2 separate regions of the Homo sapiens genome follow, and region 2 is linked to region 1. Evidence: promoter capture Hi-C in 16 types of primary human blood cells and fetal thymus (Javierre and others, 2016). All regions are on one chromosome and are shown on one strand. Each heading gives the region's core, a stretch centred on a gene start or on the middle of the fragment in contact. The rest is flanking DNA. Distances are from core to core; before and after follow the strand shown.

Region 1 (7,413 bases), core at 1,382-3,881:
TTTTTTTTTTTTTTTAAATGCAGTTGTGAGCCAATGTTTGTTAGGGGAGACAGGATGGTATTGCTTTGTATAGAGAATGAATTGCAGGGGAGAAAATTACAGAAGTGGAGAGATTGATATGGAGGCTGTGGCAGGATTCCAAGTAAATTATGATGATGACCTGAACTAATTTGGTGGCCGTGTAGATACAGAAAAGAGGGTGAATGAGAGGCATCTGAGACGTATGATGAAATAGAAATAAGTTTGGGAGATAAGATTGATAGATCTACTTACAGGCTGGAAAGGGCTGAAATGGAGTAATAAGGAAGAGAGCAATCAAAGGTGATTTCAATACTTGGATGGTGAAGGCATTTATTCAGATAATGAAGATGGGAGGAAAGAATCTGAGACAGAGTTTTAGGGAAAGTCATAAATTATTATCATTATGACATCTAGAATGTTCCATTTACATCAATAAACTTTAAGCTCTTTTACAAGATCATGACTTGTCTTAGAAAAGTACCATATAAATCCTTCTAGCACTTCACACTCTTTTGCATAACTAATAGGAATAGAAATTGGATAAAAAATAGATTTTATTATTCATGTAAAATGAAAAATTCTACTTTTTTCCTTGCCACAGAGAAAGTGGGTTGATTATATTAAATAAATAGAACCCTACTGATTGCTCTTCTGAATTTATTTATTTGTTTATCTATTTTGCTTCTGAAACTCAGCACAGCAACAGGTAGTAAAAACATAGAAGCATTACCACAGAAGGGCTCCCATGATTATATGCAGGCCCTAGGGGAAAGGAGGCCCAAGATGCTTTTGGCAGAGAGCCAGACCTGACTCATCTTTCTTCTGTAGAAGCATCAGGTACTCTGTGAGCCTAGCCCTGCACCATAGGAATCAAGGCATATCATATATCCAGTCACTGTAAAAACACATCACTGAGTCCCACAACTGCACAGTGGCTTACTTAAGGAAACCTCCTTTTAAACCTCTACAAAATTTTAAAAAACTTGTCTTAAGCCAAACTATCAGTTGCCTAAATAGAGGGCACATTCTTCTTTACATCAAATACCATATTCTGTCTAGAGTTTTGTTGTTGATAAGCTAGTCTAACAATCATGAAAATTTGCGACACAGGGATCAGATAAGACTAGCTTTCAAACTAATCAATAATTTTTAAAAAATCTCACCATAATTATAAGAAAAAATTATAAACTTTTTTAAATAGTGGAAAAAATCTGAAGAATTTGCAATAAAATGAACAGTTTAATAATTGGATTTGGTTTGCAGTTTATATAAAATAGGTTTATATTGATGTTAAAGCAAAAATTATAAAATATATTTAAATAACAAGGAAAGAAAGAGAAAGAAAATCTTTATCTTGTCTACAGGGAAGAAGAAATAGAAAAGAATAATAAATATGTTTCTGAAAAGAACTGAACTTCCCAACACTGACTTCCTATTCAGTAACTGACAAGCTATCACTTCCTTGAAAGCTTACTTTGATTTGGCTTTTATCTTACTGACACTAGCTTCTTAAAAACCCCCCTAAGTTTCTCATGTAAATTGCTCTTAACATCAGAGTAGATATAATCTATGAACGCTCCAACTTAAAAAAAAAAAACTAAAATAATGAGTGAAATGTTTACTATAATCACAAAAACTGGCATTAATGTTTCTAGTTTCTTGTTCTGATTTTTGTCTTGAATATAAGGCACGAAAATATCCATTTTTTCCTAAAAGTAAATGAGTTTCCCAAGTTGAATTCGATAAAAAGTTAAAAGGATTCTGCATCTTTTCTGAATTTCACTATAAAGTGCTTATTCGAAAAAATAAATAAATAATCTGCGCTGAGAAATAGGGGCAGAGCTGTCCTGTCAATTATTTGTGTTTGTGTGCTCTTAAGGGGTGCGGGGTTCTTTTCTGTCCCCACAGGTTGTATCTGCTAAGCTGGTTCTGCACGCTCAGCTTTGCAGATGGGAAATACAGCACATGCTTTTTGCTCGTAAAAAATGTGAGCTGCCCCTTGAATTGAAGTCCATCTAACAACTCTGCTAGCGTAAACAGAAATAAAAGACAGTAAACCACCAGGCATTGCTACCCTTCCTTTCCACAGTTTCAGAACCTGGCAGCAAACCCACAGAGTCAAAACCGCACAGGAGCTGCCCAGCTATCGAAATAACTACGCTTCCAGCCCTTCTTCCTCCCATTGCTGGAACCACCCGGTCAAGCTTCTCCCCTCTCTTCTTTCCAGGTGGCGTAATACAGGGTTCCAGAACCGAGATGTGAAAATAGACACAGGTGGGTGTGGCGGTTGAGGCGAGCACGGGCGAAAGACCGAGGGCTTCTCCTCCCCTCCCCACAGAAGCAGCAAAAGAAAAGGCACTTACTTGCAACCTAGCCCGCCGATCATCCCCACCCAGTGCACCTGCAGAATCTGGCTCCAGGAGAGGGCGCGGGCCTCTCCTTCCCCGGCGCTCTCTCAGGGCTGCTTCTTTTTCTCTGGGCTCCTGTTGCTCAGGGGACGCCTGCCGCTAGCAGCCACTGGCACCCAGGCTAGCCCAGCCTCAGCCGAGCTGGCGGAATTGGAAAGCCGACAGCCGCCGCTGGAGCGCTGGCGACCGCCTGCAAGCAGACTGCGCCCCTCCTGCCAGGGCGCGCCCGTGGAGGTAGCAGCCCCGCCTCCCCGAGGGCAGCTGCGCCGCTTTGCCTCCTCCACTCCTCCCAGCGCGCCCGGGTCCCCACCCCTTGCTCCCTCCCTCCCTCCCTCTCTCCACTCCTGCGGGCGGCGCAGGGCGGGGACCCAGCTAGGGGCGCGGTGGTGGCGACGCTGTAGCCTCTGCACCATGCGCTAATAGAAGGCGGAGGAGGGGGTTGCACGACCTGCCATCCACGGCCACCCATTGGGTGGGGCGTGTGTGTGTTTGAGTGTGTGTGTGTGTGTGTCCAGCAGCCAGAAGAGCCCTTCCCTTATCTCACCCCCGCCCCCATCATCCCTTTCCTCCCTTCCTGCTCAGCAGAATCGGCTAATGTTTCCGAGAAGTCACTTTGTGTGGCTTGGTGGGGAGCTGGAGAAAAACTCCGGAGCAGAGGAGGTGGGGACCAATGGCAAAGCCCTGAGTCTGGGGCAGTGGCTGGGGAGCCAGACAACACCGCCAGGCCAGCGCCTCCCCGACCTTGGGCTCTGAAGAGTCTAGGCTGGGAATTGGTTTCTTCCGTAGGGCTTTGCTCACAACCGCGAGTGGGGCGGTGACGCTCAAGACCGGTATCTAGGCTATGTTTTCTGTTTTCTTTATATATATGTATATATAAAATCAATTGAATTGCAGCGTCTTCCAGGCAAGCAAATAATACATTTTCTTTCGAAGATGCAGTGAAGAATCAGAGGAGGTCCTAGGTGGGGAAAGAAACGTGGGGAAAAGGCTGCTTTTCCAGACCTGGGACCCGATTATCTGAATATGCCATCAGTCATATGGGTTCTGAATTTCAGAGCTGGTAGGAGCGACTGTGAAAATAAATTTTTTAAAAATTCATTTTGTGTGGAGTGTGTGCGTGCGCTTTCCTACAGCAGCCTGGGAGGAAGAACAATGGAAACAGGGTTGAATTATCTTTCTCAAAGAGAAACAGGAAATTTCCACCAAGGGAAGAAATCAAAGGATGGCCATAGGGCAGGGTGCCTCTCAAAAGGGCAGACCACTTTGCAGGATAAACACTAGTGACGGGCACTTTTATTATTTGCTTCCACACCTTCTATCATGGAAATGATGCTTAGAGATAACCGGAAGGAAATCAAATCCCAGGGTCTACTTTTCCCTGCTGCTTTCTTTGCTTCTGAGATTTGTCCTGGGGCTTTGGACCTTACATTCTTGACTTGTAAGATGTGCTATTGAAGGAAGGAAACTTCAGTGACTGAGACTGTGCAATGAAGGTGAACTAGCTCACTTGTGATAATTCTCAGTGCCATATCCTGGACAAATCGCCTTCTCTTCCCTGATTGGTGGTAGATATAGGAAGAAGAGTTCAACTGCAATAGGAATAATGGTCTTTTTTATTAGATGCAAGCAATGCCACATTCTTTTATTTTTAAAATTTTATTTTTAGAGCAATTTTAGGTTCACAGCAAAACTGAAGGGAGGGTACAGAGATTTCCCACATAACCGCTACTCCCACACAAGAATAGCCTCCCCCATTATCAACATTCCCCACCAGAATGAAACATTTGTTAAAATTAATGAACTTACTTTGAGGTTTCATTATCTCCCAAGGTCTGTAGTTCACATTTAGGGTTAGCTCATGGTGTTGTCCATTCTATGGGGTTAGGCAAATATATAATGACATGTATCCACCATTACAGTATCTTACAGAGTAATTTCAGTTCTCTCCTGAATTCTCTGTGTTCCACTTATTCATCTCCCATTTCAACCCCTGGCAAGTACTGATCATTTTACTGTCTTTATAGTTTTGCCTTCTCCAGGATATCCTATAGTTGCAATAATACAGAATATAGCCCTTTCAGATTGACTCCTTTCACTTAGCAATATGCTTTTAGTTTTCCTCCATGGCTTTTCATAGCTTGATAGCTCATTTCTTTACAGTGCTGAATAATATTCCATTGACTGGTGGTACCATAGTTTATTCATTCACCTACTGAAGGACATCTTGTTTGCTTCCAAGTTTTAGCAATTATGCGTAAAGCCTCTATAAACATCTTTGTGAAGGTTACTGTGTGGACATGTTTTCAAGTCCTTTGGGTGAACATCAAGGAGCACAATTGCTGGATCATATGGTGAGAGTATGTTTAGTTTTTAAAGAAACTGCTACACTGTCCTCAAAGTGGCTGGAGCATTTTGCATTCCCACCAGCAATACATGAGAGTTCCTGTTGCCTCACATCCTTGGCCAGAACTTGATATCATCAGTGTTCTGGATTTTGGTTATTCCAATACATATGTGGTGGTATCTCATGCCCATTGTTGATACCATAAGTGTTATTTGATTTGCATTTCCCCTGTGATATATGATGTGGATCACCTTTTTATATGCTTATTTGCAATATGTGCATCTTCTTTGGTCTGTTAAGGTATATGGCCCATTTTTTTCATTGGGTTATTTCTTTTCTTGTTGTTGAGTTTTAAGCTTTATTTGTATATTTTGGTTAACAGTCATTTGTCAGATGTGTCTTTTGCAAATATTTATCTAACACTGGCTTGTTGTCCGTTTTTGCAGAGCAGAAGTTTTTAATTTTAATGCAGTTCACCTTAGCAATTATGTCTCTTATAGATTATGCCTTTGCTGTTATATCTAGAATAACACATATGTTAGATACATTCTTAGAGTGGAATATATAATGCATTATACATTATATATAACCTATATATTATAACATGTTATATATTATATTACTATATTATGTTATAATATATGTTATGTATAATACATATGTTGTATATAATATATAACATATTATATATTCCACTTTAAGCATCCATTAACAAGAACTTACTATTCTCAATATATCTAGGTTCTTGTTAGAGATCTTCAAACATAAAATCCTGGAAAATGATAAAACCAAAAATAAAATCCTCTTGGTCTGACTGAGGGATCCCTTGCAGGATTTTCCCTGTGAGCTCATAGGCAAAGCATTAGGTATATTATTCATTATTTTCCCAATTTTCTTTCATGTTCCAACTATTTATTTCCTTTCCATTTCTTTTATGTGCCATTCCTAGTCTACAGAACATTAGCTGTTTGTGTTTTTCTTGCTCTTTTGGCAGCCCTAGAAATTTTATCTTGGTTTAAACCCAGAAAAAGTATCTTTCCAAATTTCTTATTAAATACTACACTGCACAGCCTTGAGAGTTCATTAAACACTAAATGACAGCGTCAGATGTAGACATAAGTAGATGGTACGTTTAAAATTTAAAGGGTAGGCTTGAATTAAGGGAACCAGACAAAGCCTGTCTGGTTGAAAAAGCCAATAACCAATAAGTTCCTAATCATATTTACAACTGACCTTCCGTAACTTAGATAGAAAAATGTGGAAATGTTGAGTCATGGAAATTAACTAACATCATACAATCCATACCAGAATAGGAATAAGAATTTTATTTCCCTTAGTGAGAAATAAATGGATATCCACACTTCTGTATTTTCCACAATTGCCACTGCAATTTTCAAAACTGTAGAAGTTTCTGGAAGAACAAAAAATAGACAGTAATATTAAGGCAATAAAATTAATACAATACTGAAAGAGTTTGTTTTTCTCTAATTAAATAGGATTAGAAAAATACTTTTACCTTCTAATATTGGCTGCACGGCAATATTACAAAGTAAGAAAAAACAATTATTCTGTTGTGAAAATAGAAGAATAAAGTTACAAGTTTTGTGTATACATAGCTAAAAAGTAGGATTCAAAAGTAGAACTTCAAATTATAACTAAAAAGAAATAGAATATACAATGAAGATTATCAGACATAGATTGGAGTGATGAGATGGGCAAATGATGCTTAATGAAACAACTGAAGAAAAGAGGTTTCCTAAATGTATTGGCATCTGAGTGTTTGCTCGTCTAATTTGACGTGGTCTGGATTTTTTTGGCCAGAAAACTGATGTGAAGAAAAATAAATGTTTTGTCTTGCATGTAGTAGATGCTTAGTAAGTATATTAATTGATTACTTATTCCTGAAGAATTTTCCCCAGTGTCATAGTCCACTGATGGGTCCCTTACCCTAACAATGGTTTTGCTGATAATGTGCTTTCTGTGGAGTTATTTTTGATCAAAACTATTGTTATCGACATTCCCTTGTAGAAGTCTTCCATTAGATAAGGGGACAAAATATATGAAACACTAGTTTTCAGTCATTGGGCAACATTATCTATAAGACAGTGATCCCTAGAGAAGAGAAAGAAAGTGAGGCTGTGATTGTCTCTGCATACTACACAAAGTTTCTAAACCACAGCTCAGGAAGATGGAAACATGAAGAGCCAGAAAATAAGAGTTTGATAGGCTGAGGGAGCTAGAATTTGTTTATTTGGGACAGGACACCTAAGACAAGGGAGCTGAACAGAGAGTATACCAGAGATCTGTAGAAAGAGACCTCAAGTTTTTGCTTGACAGCATTCTGCAATTGTGTGAAAACAAAAATACCCTAAGCCAGAGAAAGAACTACAGTCATGCATTGCCTAACAATGGAGATATGTACCGAGAAATGTGTCACTAGGCAATTTTAACATCATAGAGACAGTACTTACACAAACCTAGATGGTATAGTCTACTACATACTTAGTCTTTATGGTATAGCCTATTGCTTCTAGGCTATAAACCTGTACAACATGTTACTGTACTGAGACAATTGTAACACAGTGGTATTTTTGTGTCTAATCATACCTAAACATAGAAAAGTTACAGTAAAAATACAGT
Region 2 (7,413 bases), core at 2,954-5,453, 120 kb after region 1:
GATTATATCAAGCTAATTAATATATCCATTATCTCACAGACTTATTTCTTTGTAGTGGAAACATTTAAAATCTATTCCTTTAGCATTTTGAAATATACAACACATTATTATTTAACTATCACCATCATGATGTGCAATAGAACACTTATACTTATGCCTCCTCTCTAACTGAAATTTTGCACACTTTGACCAACATCTTTCCTTTCCCCATTCACCCCCTCATCCCCAGCCTCTGGAAAGTACCATTCTACTCTCTACCTCCAAAAATTTGTCTTTCTTAGATTTCACATTTCTATGAGATCATGCAGTATTTGTCTTTCAATGCCTGGAATATTTCACTTGGCATAATGTCTTCCAGGTTCACTCATGTTGTCACAAATGATGTCTATTCAAAAGAGCTGAAATTAGTTTGTCAAAGAGATATCTGCTCTCCCATGTTTCCTGCAGTATTATTTACAAGAGCCAAGATATGGAAGAAACCTAAGTATCCATCAACATATGAATAGATAAAGAAAATGTGGTATATATACACAATGGAACGCTATTCGGACTTTTAAAAAAGGAGGCTGTCATTTGCACTGCTATTTTATTTGGATTATAATTCTTAAAATTTTTGACCCAGGCATTTTCTGAATTAAAAAAATCTAGAACTGGCACATTTACTGAAACCCTGGAGGCTTCTTAGAACTGGCTATTTACCTCTGCTTCTGACAATTCTGAAAATGTCTGTCTGTTTTTCCAGGATTCCAACCTGCCCTCCCTGCAACTCTCCCAAAAGCTCCTTTAGCTTTTCAAATGTGAAACCAAACATATAGATGTCCATCCCCTTCTCAAATTAGAGAGAAACTAGAAAGGTGCCTTGAAACATCTTAGGGTGAGCATGATTTAGTTTTTGTCTCACTCTGAGTTGGGCAAAAAATGTCCAACATGGAGCCCCAGGGCCAGAGAAAGAGAGTAGATATGGGCAAGAGCCTGTAATCAAGTGCTTAGACCATGTCGCCTCTGGGAGAACTCAGAGAGTGAGCAGCTGGTGGACTGGAAGCCTCACCTTAGCATTTAAAATAGGAAAGACAGACTACTCTACTCAGCACAATATATTCACCTAGGGTCTATGGCCCCCAAATCAGCATCACCTCCTGTTCTAGTTTAACACCAAATGCCCTATCATAATATCAGACCTTTCTAATCATAATTTCCATGAGTGGGGCCCCAGCTTCTGCATTTCTATCAAGCTCTTTGATGTCTAGGCAGTCAGTGTGGCACCTGACCCACACCATCATCAGAGCCGTCCATTGAGCTGGTTATCCTTGTCCAGCACCAGGCTGAGTCAATCCAATTATAAATACTGCAGAGACAACAGGGATATCTGTTTGCTAGGAATTTCAGGATGGAATATAAGAAGATGGCGCCTCATTTGTAATAAACAATAATTGAACAAATGAATGTAAAATAATAATCTTAGCTGGGTCAAGAGATATGCACCAACTCAAAAATAACCTCTGAAGCCCTCAGATGAAATCTTATCTTTAACTTCAAAGGCTCCTTCTTTCAATGTTGCTGCAATGAGACCTCACTTGTCTGGTTGGTTAGTCCTCACTAACAGAAGAGAAGGAACCAACGCAGGAAAAGAAAAGTGACATCTGTTTGTACAAGATTTTCTCATGTGATAATGGGTGACTGTGCATTGCTGATATCTGGAGTGGGGGTGGGGGTGGGCAGAGGTTATAGATGTTCTTCTCACACTGACAAATACTGAAAATGGTTAGTGGAAATAATGGGATCAGACTCCCAGAAATCAAGAATGTCCCTTTTACCCAATGCCTCCACCATAAGCTTTCAGGAGGGAGTCTAAGGCAGTAGGTAGATGGTGAGTCAATCTCTGAATACCCCAGTTGTGACACGTATCTCAACCCAATGAGATCTAGGGCTGGAGTGCAGATTTCCCAATCCCTGAGTAAGGGATTGGGGAAAATACTGTTATTTTTATTTCTAGTATGCTTTGGACAGGTATTTATCCTACTTTGGGAAAATCAGTGAGAGTGTATATCCGCTACCAAACCATCTACCACACGAGGCTACGGAGACAGAATGCCCAGTTTTGAAGTGCTTGGCTCTGCCTCCAGTACTCCAGTAGAGACTGATATGCAGCAGCAGGTCCAACGGTCGTGTGCCATCTGGGATCTGATGACCCCTTTTCCTGAGCCCATGTACAAATTGAGTTCTTTCTTCTATTACTTTAAACATATCCATGGGAAAGAAGGGACTCACAGTACCTATCCCCCAGGTGCAAGATTTTAATGAATCTTTGCAGTCAAGATTAGAGTATTTATGCCTAAATTTTGATTTCTCCTATGTTAAGTAACGGGCCAAATACATTCAGCAATATCCAATATACGTGATGGCTTCATCCCCAGGAAACAGGACTACAGACCTAAAATCAATTTTAAAACTAAAAACAGAAAGAGGGTAAAGCATATTTGGAGAATATTACAAGGTTTAAATATGCAAAGCTAGCCAAAGCACACACTTTTCACTTTTTTGAGGATAAAGGCTTTCAGATTAGAATATGCTTTAAACTGTACAGGTGGCAAGAAAAGGATTTGAATTTCACTTCCTCTAGTGCATTCTAGAGATGCATGTCAAAGCCCTCTGTATGCTTATATTGAATCAGACTTAGAAGGAAAATCAGAATAGTGAAGTAGATAAAAACACAGAATAATCCCTTATGTAATCAACAGTTACACATATGGTACTTTCATAAACCCTTTATATCATCTCTGTCAATTAGTTTTTGTCAGGACTTTTTGGAGTGTCATTTATAAATAAAGAAAATAAAGCTTACTCAAGTTAAATAATTGGCTTAATTTGTACAAAAATTGAAATCAAGTTTTGTAGTTCTAAATCCCAAAGACTTGTTCATTGGACTTCCCGCTCAATTACTGATTTGCCAGGTAGCCTCAGCAAATTACTCCTTATAGGTCTTACTTGTAAAAACAGCAGCTGGATTATAGAATCTTTAATTAAGGCTAGTCATAGCAGGTATGGTGCCCAGGATTCTGTTTATTACAGGGCCCACTTTCCTTCTACTTTGCCATAAATTGCTCTCCTGAATGAACAGCAGTGGGGTAAAGTATCCACAAGAAGCACCACCCAAACTCTTTCCCATTTCAAGATATTTTTCAGTCCAATATCCAAACTGGAACCCATCATTTTCGTTAATGAAAGGGGCCCATCGGTGTGTCATTCCACATGCACTCATCATTTGTCTTGTTTTGACCAATGTTCTAAGTTTTGAAGCTAACACAACCAGTCACACTATCACTTCTAAAAGAAAACCTCCAGAAGAGATGCATTTTATAGAGCAAAACAATGCAAAAACAACAACAACAATCTCTGTTGATCTAGTCAATACCAAAATGCCCAACTGACTAAACTGAGCACACCACTGCCAATCACATCAATGCCTCTACTTTTATACTATCTATTCCTTTGGGAAAATCAATCTTGAAATCTCTGTTATTTAGAATAAGAGATAGGATTCTTAGAAGAAGTGTACAACAATCTGCATAACCTTTCCTCCATTTTATACTATCATTGTACCATGTAATGTAAGTCATTGTCATATAGGGTTTCTAGAATTTTACACTAACAGAGAATGTTGGTTTCAGAAGCTTACCTGATGGAATTAGAAAACTGACGGCACATGCCATGCAAACACCCACAGACCACGGCTGCTCTTGAAGTATACTCTTGAAGTAACTCTCCTAATGCACGTCCACAATTTCAAATCTCTGTCCTCCTGCTGGGGACCCTAAGGGTGTGTATGGGATGGGGCAGGTGGGAGTGGATGGGAAAGGCTGGCAGCGGATAGCGGCTATCACCATTCTGGGACTGGACACAGCAGCAAGAAAAAGGCACTTACTTGCTACGAAGCGACAGGTCTCCACCAGTGCCTGAGGGACCCTTCAGGAGCAGGGCTCCTTGGAGCCCTTTCCTCCTCCTGGGCTTCTCTTTCTCCACGGATCTCTCGGGTTTTCTGAGCTCTAGTTGTACAGAAGCTGCTGTTAGGCTGGCGTCTGTCCTCACCAGCTGTGGCTCTGCAGTAAATGGGCCCCACTAAATGGCCAGTTAGACACCGACTCACTGGGGCGACTCTCCAGCCACTGACCCAGAGACCCCTCCTACCCAGATGTCCAGTGGAGCCGCGCCCGCTGCTTGGAAGCTGTTTTTGTCTCCTTTCCACTCCTCCCTCCCCTCTCCCAGCCACTCCACTCTCTCCCCCGCCCTAATCTCCAGGCCAGTGAGCGACTTCAGCATCCAGATCGGGCGTGGGCGGGTGATATTGACAGAGACCTGCTGCAGATGCAGTAACAGCAGCAGCTGTGGCGTCTCCTCCAGCAGCTGCCGGGAAGGGAGGGAGGAAGAGGAGCGGGGGGCTGATGAGGAGGGGTAGAGGGGAGAGGGCCTGCAGAGCGTGAAGGAATGAAGGGGCTAGGGAACATCCAAGGAGGAGAGGAAAAGGAGCAGCGCGGTGCAGCTGAGGGGGAAGGGAGAGTGAAAATGAGGGAGAGGAGAGGAAGACAGAAAACTCTGGTTCTTTAACCTCCAGTTGTATTCTCTCTCCCCTTGCCTAGGTGCCCCAGCAGAACTTAGAGGGGCAATTGTCAGCCTGCAGCATTCAAATCTGGACATTGCTGTAATTAAGAGTTTGTAATCCTGTTGTTGTGTGAGTATGTGTGTAGCTGTTTTTAGGAGAGTCAAGAGTCAGCTGGAGCTGGCTTTTACTCTGGATCAGTTTCCCACTCTAGTGATTTGAAACACGAGGGACAGAGGAAAAATTATGTTTATTTTAGAAAACTGCGGCAATACAGTGTAGTTTGGGAGTGAAGGCCAGAGGGGTTGCACCTTCTTCCCAAAGGCCACACCATAGAACCTTCATTTTGTAACCCTATTTTATGCACACATCACATCACTTACTTCAAAAATATATCAGCATATGTCTCTGAATGGTAAGAACTTAAGATTTTAACTCAATACCCTGATCACATCTATAATTAGCAATAATTATTTTGTAGCATCAAACATTCACTTGATTTCTTTATAATGGACAATTGACTGACTGCAGGCTTCTCTTCTCCACACTCTGGTGATGATGCAAATGAATTTTCTAGAGCATAAAACCTTCCCTTAGAGCAGTCTGACACATATATCCCTTTTCACCCAGTAAAATTCTACACACCTTTCTGTACATTCAAACACAATATAAATTTAATGAACTTAATATCAAATATTTCAAAGTTTCCATGTGATATTTAAAATAAATAAAAAGAAGTACTGCTTTTTATAATGTGTAATGAACAGGCAGTTGATCCCAAGATATTGTACAAACCAATCACATAAATGAGAGGCAAATAGATGGGAAACTAATGGTGTTGGTTTTATATTCTGAGTTAGCTAGCCATTTTCTTGTTTTGGAACAAATATTTGTTTTGGGACAAATATTTGGCACTACGGTTATATAACGGTTATGTAATATTACCAGGTTGGATCTGAAAAGTTTTGGCAATTATCGTGCCCCTAATAATGAGCTGAGGATCCTTCCTCCCCCACTGAGTTTCTCAGCAGGAGGAACTACATAGTGGAGGGTCTGTTTTCAACATTTCTGCCTTAAGAACTTTATAAGCATATTTCTAAACTCTACTTTCTAAGTATGTATTCAGTAGGTGGGAGCTCTAGACCCCACATACTCTTCTGTGTCAGGAGAGAAGCTGGCTGTATCACACTACACTTGAACTCGATACGCCACTGTGGGCATTAGCTTCCTTTCAGTCTGTTTAAATGGGAGCTGTTTATTGTGACCTCAGAGATGTCAGTGTCAGAAGTGTGGATGGACTCGATGTTTTAATTCTCAAAAAAGTCTCTACATCCAGAGTTGACAAAACCCTGTATAAAAAGACAAGCAAACAACTCTCCCAAAACACACTCAAACAAACCCAAAACTCTTTCTTTGGAGATATGTTCTCCAGTTTCATCATCTTTTTCTACCTGGCTACATGGTAGCCATTATGTTCTGCCTTTATGGACACTCTTATTTATTAAGAATTTATTCTGTGGTTGACAGTCTTTCCCTCCATTCAAACTCTTGCTTTCCTTCTTAAAAACTTTCTCATCCATTTGAATACCAACAACTATTTGGATGAAGCATCCAACAGCCTAACTTCTGATTTCATCCTTAATGGATTATCTTCTTCTCCAAATCATCTCTGCTATCAATTCCCACTTTCACAATTTGAATCCTATTGTAGTTAGCAACTGCTTTGTATTTCTTCTTAGTGCTTATCTGGCCTGTGAAATAGCTATTGCTTATATGTTTATTTTCTGTCTTGTTCCACTAGACTGCTTTCTGCATGACAGCTGAGACTTATTTATTTCCTGCTCTACAATAGCACTTGTAAGAGAGGATGTAATAGAGTAGGTACCCAGTATATTTGCTAAAGTATTGAGCATTATTCATACCTAATCCACTCTATGCTTTGTGGGAAAATGTGGAGATTCACTATAGGAATAGACCATAGATCACATGCAATCTAAAGAACATGAGAATTGTTTGTTGATCTGTTTCATTCTTAAAACCTGGTGCTTGGATGCTTTAAAGCTTCTATAATATACAGGTGTGAGAATTTCCTCTGGTTTCAGAATCTTGATATAAAGCATGAGCCTGCCTGAAAAGAAATGGTAATAAGAAAGTCCAGTCATGTCTATGGGGAATACCAAGGGATGCAGAGAAATAAAGCACTCAGCCTCAAACCTAAGCTATTTTTGATAATAGCCATTCTAACATGTGTGAGGTGATATCTCATTCTGACATTATCAAAAAGATGAATGATAACAAGTGTGGGTGAGGATGTGGAGAAAAGAGAACCCTGTACAGTGCTGGTGGGAATGTAAATTAGTACAGCCATTTTGGAAAATAGTAAACTCAAAAAACTAAAAATAGAATTACCATATGATCTAGCAATCCCACTCCTGGGTATATATCCAAAGGAATTTAAATTTCTATGTCAAAAGGATAGTTGCAGTCCTACTTTAATTCAGCATTATTCACAGTAGCCAAGATATGGAAGCAACCTAAATGTTTATTGCTGGATAACTAGGTAAAGAAATGTGGTATATATACAAAATTAAGTACCACACAGCCTTTACAAAGAAGGAAATTCTGTCATTCAAGACGAGGTGGTACTGGTGTACATTACGTTAAATTAAATAATCCAGGCACCAAATGATAAATGCCACATGATCTCACTTATATGTGGAACTAAAAAAGTCAATCTCATATAAACAGAGTAGAAATGTCGTCTCTAGAGGTTGGGAAGGGGAGGGAGAAGGAAATAGAAAATGTTGATCAAAGAGTAC

What was found. Contacts are between HindIII fragments. The CHiCAGO score rates a contact against its expected background, and 5 or more counts as called.
Region 2: a contact is called between the fragment with the promoter of SCN7A here and the fragment with the promoter of SCN9A in region 1, in 1 of 17 cell types (fetal thymus). The highest score is 6.9, in fetal thymus.

Annotation. Positions count from the first base shown.
Region 1 is chr2:166,373,313-166,380,725 of GRCh38, forward strand. SCN9A (sodium voltage-gated channel alpha subunit 9) reads right to left here and starts at 2,632. Exons shown (of 27, transcript NM_001365536.1): 1 at 2,385-2,632. The HindIII fragment of the contact is 2,904 bases long and covers 2,224-5,127 here.
Region 2 is chr2:166,490,046-166,497,458 of GRCh38, forward strand. SCN7A (sodium voltage-gated channel alpha subunit 7) reads right to left here and starts at 4,204. Exons shown (of 26, transcript NM_002976.4): 1 at 3,923-4,204. The HindIII fragment of the contact is 2,984 bases long and covers 3,670-6,653 here.